4 separate regions of the Homo sapiens genome follow, and regions 1, 3 and 4 are each linked to region 2. The links are contacts of gene promoters, found by promoter capture Hi-C in blood cells and fetal thymus (Javierre and others, 2016). All regions are on one chromosome and are shown on one strand. Each heading gives the region's core, a stretch centred on a gene start or on the middle of the fragment in contact. The rest is flanking DNA. Distances are from core to core; before and after follow the strand shown.

Region 1 (2,722 bases), core at 206-2,705, 930 kb after region 2:
AATTATAGGATTCCATCTATAGGAGCACCTTCTTTGTAGTTGGTACTCCCACATTGTCCCCTTTTACTGGGGTCTGGTGTGAACCAGACCTCTGGATCTTCAGCTTTTAGATCTACTTTTCAGTGCCTCACAGACTTTCATCTTCTACAACTCCTGAACTGATTGTCTTATTCCACCAGTATGTTTTTCTGGCTGTTTTAGAGATTCAAATGTAGTCTTTCATAGTATTTAAATGTCTGTACTTTCCATGGGCTTTTTTTTTTCCATACCTGCTCACACTTAATCTTCTTAAGGTAACTACATGGTCTAGGTTGCACTGTGCCATTTTTCATCCACTTTCCTTCCCAACTGTGTTGCATTCTGAGCATCTCAAATTGAGTCTATAAATAAAGAGGATGCTGGGAGTTACTGGTGAAGAAGTATAACTGCGTGACTTAGAAAATGATAACCATGTGTTAGTAGCATAACTAATCTACTTTCTGGACTTTTGTTGCAGACCTTAAATCCCCTGCATGTGAGCACTGTCTTGTCATCATTTTGATAGTCTTAATAGTCAGTTTCATTAAGTAGAACCAGCATCACTGGTGTTTGTGTCTCTGAGTTCTAATATTTTCTTCCCCTATCCTGATCATCTTGTGCCTGTCTTTGGTATGTGAATAAAATGAGCTTCACTTGAAAAATCTGTCAGCACCATGGTCAGAGTCCCTGCCTTGTGGAGTAGGGTGGTAGCTGCATTAAGGGAGCTATTCTTTCTCTTAGTGCCGATTATCCAGGAAGCTATTTTGAATGGCAGGATTAAGCCAATAGCAGTGATACAGATAACAGGTCACACATGGAATCTCATCCAAGAAATATCTTCAGGATAAGATTGAACCTTGATATCCTGCCTAATTTGAAGGTTTGTTTTAGCCCTACTTCAAATGAGTCAAATAAGCAAAGTAGACTCTATCTTAGCATGGCAGTATAAGAGGGATCCTTTGAAAAGAACATTTAAAAGAATCATACCTTATTCTCCTCAAATGAAATCTCCCAAAGTACTGTAGCTTATGTGGTTGTTGATAATAGCCTTATCCTCAAATAGAGTATAGTGTTTGAATCAAGATGGAATTAAAAATATAATGAACGAGGTTAGACAATTTTTTTTGTTTAAATGGCTCATGTAGATAAGGTAGGCATTTTAAAAAGCAGAATAAGTAATTATAGAAGCAAGAAGGCGATAGCTTTTAGAAAGAGGGGGAATTGGAGTCAAACCACTAAAAAATAAAGAGATAAAGTAGGAAGGTGGAGTATAGAAGATTAACCTTTGAAGCATCATGTCAAAGAGAGGCAAATGCAGGTTTTAAAAATAATTGATTCTTGCAGAGAAAATTTCTTCAATTTTGTCCCAGGTGATTTTCTTTAGTTTTCCTAAGTGCTCCGATTTTACCACATCAACTTTTACAACTTACAGATTACAGAAACCAAGACTATAGTTTGCCTGTGATATTTAGCCACATATCTTCCATATTGCAATTTTAAAACTGGAAAAGCTAAACAAATTTTTTTTTAATTTCCAAAAGGTATTACTTTGTTTTTTTTATGTTCACCCTGTGTACTTCCAAGGATATTCTACCGTGTTTGTGATAGAAAAAGATATAGTAACCAGAAGTCCTTTAAAATACAAAGAGAAGACTAGAAACAATAGCAAGGGAGTGGGAACTATAATTAAGATAATATATTTCCTGAGAGTATAAAATTTTATTCCAGTAGACTAGAACTTACTTCTGAATCTGGTCTTCTTAGAGTGGACAAAGTAAAGACATATAATTACAGCTCTAGAAAATACAGAAATGCTTAGTTTTCTGGGCTTTTTTTTTTTTTTAAAAGAATCCTTATTCCATGCAGATGATTTTTGAAAAATTATGACAATCTTTTCCAGGCCTTTCTTGGCTCTGCTACTTCTGAATTTACTCTTTTTTCATCTAATCTTTTCTTCAATGCCAGTGTTCCTCACCTTCCATTCAACCCTAATTACTGCAGTCACTTGCCTCTTTAGATGGTACTTTCTCAAAGGGCTGTGGTGATCTTTGAATTTCTAAAGCCATTAGCCTCTTCTCAAATATATCTTTTTACAAAGTAGTTTATATTGTTGAACCTCACTTCTCTCTTAAAACTTTGTTCCCTTGTTTTCTAGATCTCTACTCTGTCTTAGATTCTCTTCCAGTCTTTGGTATCTTTCTTAATTTCTTAGTTTTTCTCTTTTCCCACCTACTACTTAAATATTAATAATCCAAGATTCATTTTTTGACCACATTTCACTTTTCACAGGCCATTTTGTTTCCCATAGATCATGTTTGATTTTTATCTTCTACCTTTCAAACCCTTCCTTCTCTTCTGCTACCAGTTAATTCTCTACCAGATGTACTCCTATAAACGTCTTAATTCTTTTTTCTTCATAACACTCAGATAATTCCGACCCACTTTACCTCTTGTCTGGACAGCTACCTCCAGTTAGGTTTTTCTGCCTTTTCTTTTTGTACATTCACTTTGCCAGTAATTGAAACTCCAGTACGTGACTACTCATTTTCTGCCAATGTGATAATTTTCCTGCTACTCATGCTGTTCCCTGTAACTGGAATGTTCTTCCTTCTTTTTTAAATCTCTTGTCTCATCCAGTTTAAGCATTCTTTGTAATACTTTACCTTGTATCCCTAGGTACAGTAACTCATGCACTTCTGTTTTT
Region 2 (2,866 bases), core at 111-2,610:
AGGGAGGGGGGTCCGAGCCGCACGAAGTAACTTCTGCTCTTGGCACAGGGGGCTACTGCGCTCTGAGCCCCCTCGCCCCACAGATGTGGACACAGCCTCCTCTCCACCCAGCGTGAGGCGCATCAGAGGGTCTGCAGACATGGGAGGGAGGTCATCCCAGAGGGGAGGGATCAAGCCGGGACTCCACATCCAGGGCAGCCAGGCGTGAGAGGAAGCGGGAGACACACCAGGCCTCCAGGGGACACCGAGGCCACCAGTACTCCCCCAACCCTCCGCCTTCCGCGCGCGGAGCCAGGTGTAACACCGCGGGGAGCCGCGTCTACACTGCCGCGGGAGCTCCGAGACGCGACTAGAAATTTTCCTGTACCCCTTTTTCTTTCTTTTTTGCTAGGGTCGTGAGAAGAAGAGGCAAGGCGTTTGGTAAATCGAATTGATTGATGCCCAGAAGCATTTGCGGGTTGCAGAGCTCACACTTTAAAGGGGGCCTGGGCACCCGGCTTGAGGGTCACCCGAACACACTACCCACGCGGCGAGGCGAGCGTGGGGAACAATGGGCCCACCCGGGCCCCCACCCGGCGAACAATGGCGGCGCCGAGCCCGTCTTCGCCCCCCATCCCCACCCCCGCCACCCCCGCCCGGCCCGCCGCTCCCGGCCGCCTCTCCACCCGCCCGGGAGGGAACCATAGTGCGCGGGGCGAGGGGTCTCTGGTCAGGTCCACCCGAGAGGCCAGCCCCGCGGGAATGTCCGAGGGGGCGGCCTAAACACCTCCGCTGCGTCTGGGGCGTCGGGGCGCCCAGCTGCGGCGCGGAGCAGCAGGGAAGGCAGACGCCCCAGCCACTTACCCCGATCACCACGGTCTCATCGCCTTTAAATTTGGGGATGAATTTGTCCCCGCGGAGGATCTCCGCTTCGTTGAGGGGCCGGAACCGGCACATCACTTTGATGCTGCATTCGGCTGGATCCGCCATCTCGGCCGGCGGTAGGGAGGGGGCACGGGGATGGGTGGGGGGCCGGGGCCGGGAACGACGAGGGAGGAGGCCGCGAGCTGCACCGCCCACAGCTAGGCCGCCTCCTGCAGCCTCCGACGACGCTTCTCAGCAGGTCATCGCGAGCCCGGCCGGCTGAGCAGCCCCGGCCGCTCCGAGCCCGGGAAGGTGGGCAGCTTCTCCGCTCCGGCCCCTCCGGCTGCAGACCGGCCTGCCCTGGCCCTGCCCCGCCCCTGCCCAGCGCCCCCCGGCCCACCTGCCCGCGACCACGCGGCGGGCGGAGGAGGCGATGCGCAGGGAGCGAGCCTCGCCCGGCTCAGACCTCCCGGGCTCCTGCGCGCTCAGCCATCCTGCATCAGCACCAGCGCGCTCTGCCGCCTTGAGACCCGCCCCTCCGCCCCGCCCTCCCCTGGCCCGCCCCGGGACGGTGACGTCACCGTAGAGGTCCGCCCGGCCCCCGCCCGACTCCGAGCGCTGCGCATCCCGGGACTTGTAGTCACTCTACCTGCCGGGGGAAGGACAGGATGCGACCTCCAAGAGCCTGCAAGTCCGGTCTGGCTGCCCAAGCCGGAACCGGATGGAGGTCATATCCAATATTTCCGGTTAAAATCTCTAGATAACTGGGTCTGGATCATCCTGATCCCAAAAGAAAATCACTTGGGAAACAGCTCCCAATAGCCCCTGGGTTTCATCCTTCAACTTCTACCACTAGATAAGGATGGATGTCTGTTCAGAGTTTGGGTTTGATTGGCCTTGGTTTAGGTTGGCATCTAGTGCTAAACCAATCAACCAGAATCAGGGATTTTGTAAGATTATGGAGGAATCCCTTGGTGGGAAGGTTCCCAAAAGAAGAGGGATGGTATTCCCAGACATGGTGCCGGGCTGGCAGAACAACTGAGTGTCCACTCTATTTTTCCAGAACTTCCTTTTCCTCTAAGACCTAGCTCAACCCTCCTTCCTCAGACTTTCCCAGCTCACTAAACACCTATAAAGAGTTGGTGGCCCTCCTTGATGTTCCCCTAATCTGCTGTGCCTGTCTCTAGCACTGCACTTGGGTGGTGATATCTGCTTGATATCTTTGTGTCTGTAGCATCTAGCACATAGTGGGCAGCATACTGAATAAGGATTCTACCCTAGGAAGAAGCAATGCATGAGTGTGAATCCCACCTCAGCCACTTATTAGATGTATGACCAACAGGCGGAGGAAATTAAGAGCGGAGGAAATTAAGAAGTCTTAATTTCCTTAAGACTCAGTTTCCTCATCTCTGTCATTGGAATAATATCATCTTGTGATTTCTGGGGGAATTAAAAGACAGATGCTTTTAAAGCACCTAGCACGGTGCCTGACATGTATATAGGATAAGCTCTTGAAAGTTAGATGTTATTGGGTGCTGAACAAATGATCATAAAACAAATAAGTTAGTTAATTTTAGGAACACATCTGTTGCTTAAATTCGGGTAATACCTGAAAATACAAGTGTTCTCTGCCTAGCTGAGAGGACAGACCTACTAAAATCAACTTTTATAAACCCTTGTAAGTAGTACCAGTTCTATTTCATCTCCTCATGTGCAGTGGAAGTAGATTAAAAAGACCCAGGTGCCACCTTCTCATCTGTTTTTAAATTAAGTAATTCTCAGGCTCTGGCTCAGAGACCCATCATCTTAAATGATCAACTTCATAATATACTAGAGAGGACAATCCAATTCTCAGTTTCCCTGAGCCCACCAGAAGATGCCCAGAACCTTGCATACACTGGTTTATCTGAGGAGGTCAGGATTATCTCAAGTGGACAGAGACGTATCTGTGTGTCACTGTGTTCAGTCATCATTCATTCGTTCATCTGTTCATTCATCAGCTATTAACTGAGCAAATGGCATT
Region 3 (2,770 bases), core at 164-2,663, 870 kb after region 2:
TGGCCGACATGGTGAAACCCCATCTCTACAAAAAATACAAAAATTAGCTGGGCATGGTGGCTTATGCCTGTAATCCCAGCTAATCTGGAGGCTGAGGCAGGAGAATCGCTTGAACCCAGTAGGTGGAGGTTGCAGATCACCTGGGCAACAGAGTGAGACTCTGTCTCAAAAAAAAAAAAAAAAAAAAAAAGAATAAATCTGGCCTCATAAAATGAATTTGGAGATCCTCCTTGATTTTGGAGAATGATTTGAGTAGGATTGATGTTAGTTCTTCTTTAAATGTTTGGTAGAACTCAGTGAAGCCATGAAGTCCTGGCCTTTTCTGTGATGGGGGACTTTTTATTATTGTTTCTATCTTGAAACTTATTATGGGTCTATTTCGATTTTGGTTTTCTTAATGTTTCATTCTTCTTAGGCTGTATGTGCCTAGGAATTTATTCGTTTCTTCTAGGTTTTACAATTTATTGGCATGCAGTTGTTCAAATGGTCTCCAATGATCCTTTGAATTTTTGTGATATCAATTGTAATGTCTCCTTTTTTGTCTCTGATTTTATTTGGATCTTCTTTTTTTTCTTTTCTTAGTCTGGGTAAAGGTTCATTGATTTTGTCTGTCTTTCCAAACAACCCTTTTCATTTCATTGATCTTTTCTATTTTTTTGTCTCAATTTTATTTCTGTTTTTTATTATTTATTTTCTTGTTTTCTTTATTATTTCTCTTCTTAATTTGGGGCTTGGCATGCTCTTGCTTTTCTAGTTCTTTAAGATGCATTACTAGGTTGTTTATTTCTTGGTTTTCTACTTTTTGATTTGCACATTTATTGCTATAAACATTCCCTTTAGTGTTAGCTTTAACTGTATCTCATAAGTTTTAGTAGGTTGTGTTTCCATTTTCATTTGTTTCAAGACATTTTTTAATTTCCTTAATTACTTCATTGGTTGTTCAGGCACGTATTGTTTAATTCTTATATGTTTGTATAGTTTCCAAAGTTCCACTTGTTATTTATTTCTACTTTTATTCCATTGTGGTTAGAAAATATACTTTTTATCAGACTTGTTTTGCGGCCTAACATGATGGTGCTCTTTTTGGATTTCTGTTTGCATGCAATGTCTCTTTCCATCTTTTGGTCTATCTATGTTTTTATAAATGAAGTGGGTTTCTTATATGTAGCAGGTAGTAGGGCCTTGTTTTGTTTAGCCCTTCAGCTCTTCTGTGTCTTTTGATTGGAGAATTTAGGATCCATCCTTGAGAAATGTTCCATGTGCTAAGGAGAAGAATGTATTCTGCGGCTGTTGGATGACAGCTTCTGTAAATGTCTATTAGGTCCATTTAATCTATAGTGCAGATTAAATTCATTGTTTCTTTCTGTCTAGATGATCTGTCCAATGGTGAAAGTGGGCTGTTGAAGTCCCAAGTCATTACTGTATTGGGTTCTGTCTCCTTAACTCTAATACACTTGACTCTATATATCTAGATGCTTCTGTGTTGGATAGATATGTATTTATAATTTTTATGTCCTCTTGCTGAATTAAAACCTTTTGTATTATATGATAACCTTTTTTTCTTTCTTCATAGTTTTTATGTTGAAATCTATTTTATCTAAAAATAGATACAAAGCTACTTGGGCTCTTTTTGGGTTTCTGTTTGGTGCAGTATCTTTTTCCGTCTTTTTGTTGTTAGTCTATGTTTTTATAGTGAAGAATTTAGTCCATTCACATTCAGTATTATTATTGATAGGTAAGGACTTACTACTGCCTTTTTATTGTTGTTCTGGTTATTTTCTAGGGCTTTTCCCCCATTTTTTTCCTTGTTTTCCTTTGTGATAATTATTTTTTGGTAGTATGTTTTAATTTCTTGCTTTTTATTTTTTTGTGCACCTATTAGAGGTTTTTGTTTTGTGGTTACTATGAGGTTAGCAAATAACAATTTATAGCCAATTATTTGCAACTGATGACAACTCTGATTGCAAAGAAAAGAAAAAATACACGCACAGAAAAAACTAAAAACCTGTACACTTCTACTCCATCCCTTCACTTTTTGACTTTTTGTCTCTATATATTTTTATATTTTAAGTTTTGGAGTAGTTTTTTTTTGATAGTGTTATATAGAAAGTTTCGATGCTGCAAAAGAAATAGCACTCGAATACAAAATTTTCTTTTTAATATTCAGCAAGGCAAGCTACTTCTATATAGAAGGGTGCACCCTTACAGATGGAACAATGGTGAGCGCACATTTGGACAAGGGATGGGAAGGGGTTCTAATCCCTGACGTATGTGGCCCCTGCTGCTCTGTCGTTCCCCTATTGGCTGGGGTTAGACCGCACGGGCTAAACTAATTCCAATTGGCTAATTTAAAGAGAATGACAGGGTGAATGCTTTGGCGGGAGTCAGGGCAGAGCAGGTAGCAGGTAATTGGAATGAGTTAGGGTGGAGCAGGTGATTGGAATGTTGGGTGGAGCAGATGATCAGAATGAGTCAGGGTGGAGTAGGTAATCGAAAAAGGTTGCTTTACGAGGAAGTTAAGTTTAAAACTAGAAGGCAAAGAATTGAACATACTGACACACTAATTCTTTGAAAAGAAATTTAGAACTCATATCTAACAATCCCTCCCCTTGTATTTCCTTACAGCTTTCTTTTCAAACTTTTCTTAACATGTCTTGGCTTAGTTGTTTTGCTTGATTTTCTAAAAGAAGAAGGTTCTCTAGATAAGGTAGAGTTTAGAACTCTTCTAACAATATAGGTTTGTCTTTTAATCTTCCTGCTAAAGATATGA
Region 4 (2,947 bases), core at 289-2,788, 900 kb after region 2:
CTAGGAGACTCACCTGTCTGTGCCATCAGTACAGACTTGCCAATCTCTGTCCCATAGCATATGCTGAAAAAGCTCTGAATCGGGGATTCAGCTCCACTCAGCCACAGTCTTACAGAAATCCTGCACAGAAATCCTCCTGTAGTCAGGAGATACATCCTTCTGTGTCCTCAGGACAGGCAGGCAGATTTCAGTCCCACAGCAGGTCCTGAAACAACCCTGAATCTTGGCATAAGCCCCTCTCAGCTGTGGTCAGAGAGCAGTTCTGCCTACCCAGCATCCTGGAGGGAGATGGGGCTGTCCATAGCCCTGCAAACAGGCCACCTGACCTAGGTCCCTCATCAGTCCCTGAAACACCCCTGAAAAGTGGCTCCAGCCCCTCTCAATACAGCAGGCCCGCTAACTTAAGGACCTGAAGGGAGACATGCAGGTTTGTGACACCTTAGGCCTGAAGACCTAAGTCTTGACTGTAGGCCCTGAAGCAACCCTGTAGCTTAGTTCCAGCCCCACTCAGCTGTGGACTAGGGCAGTACTGCCTGTTAAGGAATCTACTCAGTGATCCAGTAGGAGCCCTCCCAGGTTCCCAGAGAAAGCCAAACCATCCACACACCTGGTAACAGGTCTTTTCTCTGCATATCTTCATCCACTGTACAGACCGAGGTCCTAGAAAAAGTCCAGTCCGCCAAGGGACCAGATAGGGTTCATATCCTGCTACAGCCCCTGGTAACAAGGTCCTATCGGGAGGACAGGGCCCTTTCCAAGTCTGAAGCCTGGACCACAGTTGGGGAATCTGTCACGTGAATGAAGATCTGCCCTCCAATTGACTTTTCCAGGTCTTGGGCCCCACTGGGGTTTCACAGACGCCTGCCTGAATCTCAACGCTAACACAAAGACCATTTTGTCCGTGGGTGGCTGTGAAATTATTGTTGCTATTTGGGGACACAAGCTGAAGGGCCTCCTATTTCATCTTGCTGCTGTCATTCTCGCATTATTATAATGTTAATCATTGGTGATTTGATGATAAGTCAGCTTTTTTTGAGTTTTATGAGTTCTGGCAGTAAAAAAGTTCCAAAATGTCTTTCACTGAGCTAAATTCAGGGTGTTAGCAAAGCTGTGTTCCTTCTGGAGATTAGATGAGACCAGAATACACTTTTTTAAAAAAGTGGTTAACTTGGTTGGATCCAAATCCTGGCTCTTCCATTTATATACTGTTTGATTTTGGTCAACATACCTAGCCTATCTGTGTCTTCTAACCTTAAAAGAGGATTATAATAGTAGTTATTCCACATGATAGTTTTGAGGATTAAATGAGTTGATAAATGCAAAGCATTTGTAACAATTCCTGATACCTAAACACTGCTTAAGCTGTTACTGTCTATCTGTTAAAATTTATTCCTATAGGAAATCAGTGCTAAGAAAATTAGGTCTTTTAGTCAAAGGTCTTTTAGTCATTTGTCTATGAGTATGGTACACTTGAGGAGAATTTTACAAAAAATATAATTTTTTCATTAATTTTTTTTTCATTCCAGTTATTCATTGCCAACTTTGTTTTGGGCATTATGCTACAATGCTTAGAATATAAAAAATCTCAATTTGGAAACAGTAGCAATTAAACAGACAATTTTGTTTAAAATAATTCAATAATAAAGCAAAATACAGGCACTTATGAGTGTTTAAGGAAGAGGCATTTAACCTAGTCTGTAATGATTATTTGTGTATTGTTGGTGAGTGGAGCAAGAAAGGGAAGGTTTTCTATAAGGGATGATCCTGTGGGATGGATGGGTGGGAGAATCATAAAGGAAGCATGTAAGTTAAAAAAAGAAAAAGGAAGAAAGGGAAGGTGAATAGAAGATTTAATCGAAAGGGAGGAGTAGCTGTAAGAACCACATACAGGCCTGGAGGTATTGTAGGTTCAGTTCCAGACCATTGCAGTGAAGCAAATATCACAATAAAGTGAATCACCCAAAACTTTTCTCAGTGCATATAAAATTTATATTTACAGTATACTAGTCTACTAAGTGTGCAGTAGTAGCATGTCTAAAAAATGTACATACCTTAATTTGAAAATACCTTATTGCTAAAAAATGCTGACAGACACAAAATGGGGACATGGTGTTTGAAAAATGGTGCCTATCGACTTGTTGGACACAGAGTTGCTACAAACCTTCAGTTTACTTTAAAAAAAAAATGCACCATCTGCAAAGCACAGTAAAACAAAGTGTGCCTAAAGTGTGGTATGAGAGTGTTGAATCAGCCTGTACTTAGACAAAATGAAGCCATCGAAGATTTTGAAGGTCTTAGGGTTTGAGCATTTTTTACTTTTAAAAACTTGTATTTATTTTAATTCTAGAACAGTAAATTCTTAAGTAATCTCTTTAAGTCACTACGTTTATAATATTTATGCCAATTTTTTTAAAGGATTTGAATTTGTTGAAATGAGCAGTCGTAAATCAAAGAGTAACAGCTTAATTCACACAGAGTGCCTTTCACAGGTTAGTATGTATTTTCATTAATCTCAAGATATTTTACCCTGTAAAGCTGTTCAGAGAAATAGTTATCTTCTTAACCTGAATTTTCCCTTTAGCATTTAGGAAGAATCACTCTTTCTAACCTTAGGGAGATATCAGTACGAGACCTTAACGAGATGCCAGCACAAGGTCGTAAGAACAATCATCTGGAAGCAAAATTTTCCAAACTCTGTCAAAATTAAATGTGGACCAACAGATTTTGTTGTTATGATTGTTCTCTGCCCTTTTTGTCAGTTCATATATTTTTTTTAATATTAGTGTTTTATACTGTAATTTAATTTTATCCTTATTAAGTCTGGGTAGTCAGAATTCTAGCTTTTACTTTTTTCTTTCCAATCTAGATGCCTTTTTTTTTTTTTCCCTTTTCTTGCCTAATTGCCCTGGCTTGAACTTTCTTTAAAATGTTGAATAGGATTGGGAAG

The links. Contacts are between HindIII fragments. The CHiCAGO score rates a contact against its expected background, and 5 or more counts as called.
Region 1: a contact is called between a fragment that was not itself captured here and the fragment with the promoter of KIF5C in region 2, in 1 of 17 cell types (total CD4 T cells). The highest score is 7.0, in total CD4 T cells.
Region 3: a contact is called between a fragment that was not itself captured here and the fragment with the promoter of KIF5C in region 2, in 1 of 17 cell types (activated CD4 T cells). The highest score is 5.0, in activated CD4 T cells.
Region 4: a fragment that was not itself captured here is called in contact with the fragment with the promoter of KIF5C in region 2 in 1 of 17 cell types (total CD4 T cells); the score reaches 5.2 in total CD4 T cells.

What each region holds. Positions count from the first base shown.
Region 1 is chr2:147,943,837-147,946,558 of GRCh38, reverse strand. The region is part of intron 9 of ORC4 (origin recognition complex subunit 4); the gene reads left to right. Among named protein-coding and RNA genes, the nearest start is that of ORC4, 76 kb to the left of the region's middle. The HindIII fragment of the contact is 5,454 bases long and covers 1-2,722 here.
Region 2 is chr2:148,873,721-148,876,586 of GRCh38, reverse strand. KIF5C (kinesin family member 5C) reads right to left here and starts at 1,360. Exons shown (of 26, transcript NM_004522.3): 1 at 844-1,360. The coding sequence starts at 969. KIF5C-AS1 (KIF5C antisense RNA 1) reads left to right here. Exons shown (of 4, transcript XR_001739733.2): 4 at 392-2,866. RefSeq lists enhancers at 1-115, 116-694 and a silencer at 1,067-1,536. The HindIII fragment of the contact is 10,493 bases long and covers 1-2,866 here.
Region 3 is chr2:148,008,269-148,011,038 of GRCh38, reverse strand. The region is part of intron 1 of ORC4 (origin recognition complex subunit 4); the gene reads left to right. Among named protein-coding and RNA genes, the nearest start is that of ORC4, 11 kb to the left of the region's middle. RefSeq lists an enhancer at 1,896-2,770. The HindIII fragment of the contact is 5,987 bases long and covers 1-2,770 here.
Region 4 is chr2:147,975,444-147,978,390 of GRCh38, reverse strand. It overlaps ORC4 (origin recognition complex subunit 4), which reads left to right. Exons shown (of 14, transcript NM_181741.4): 2 at 2,416-2,489. The coding sequence starts at 2,433. Among named protein-coding and RNA genes, the nearest start is that of ORC4, 44 kb to the left of the region's middle. The HindIII fragment of the contact is 3,279 bases long and covers 1-2,947 here.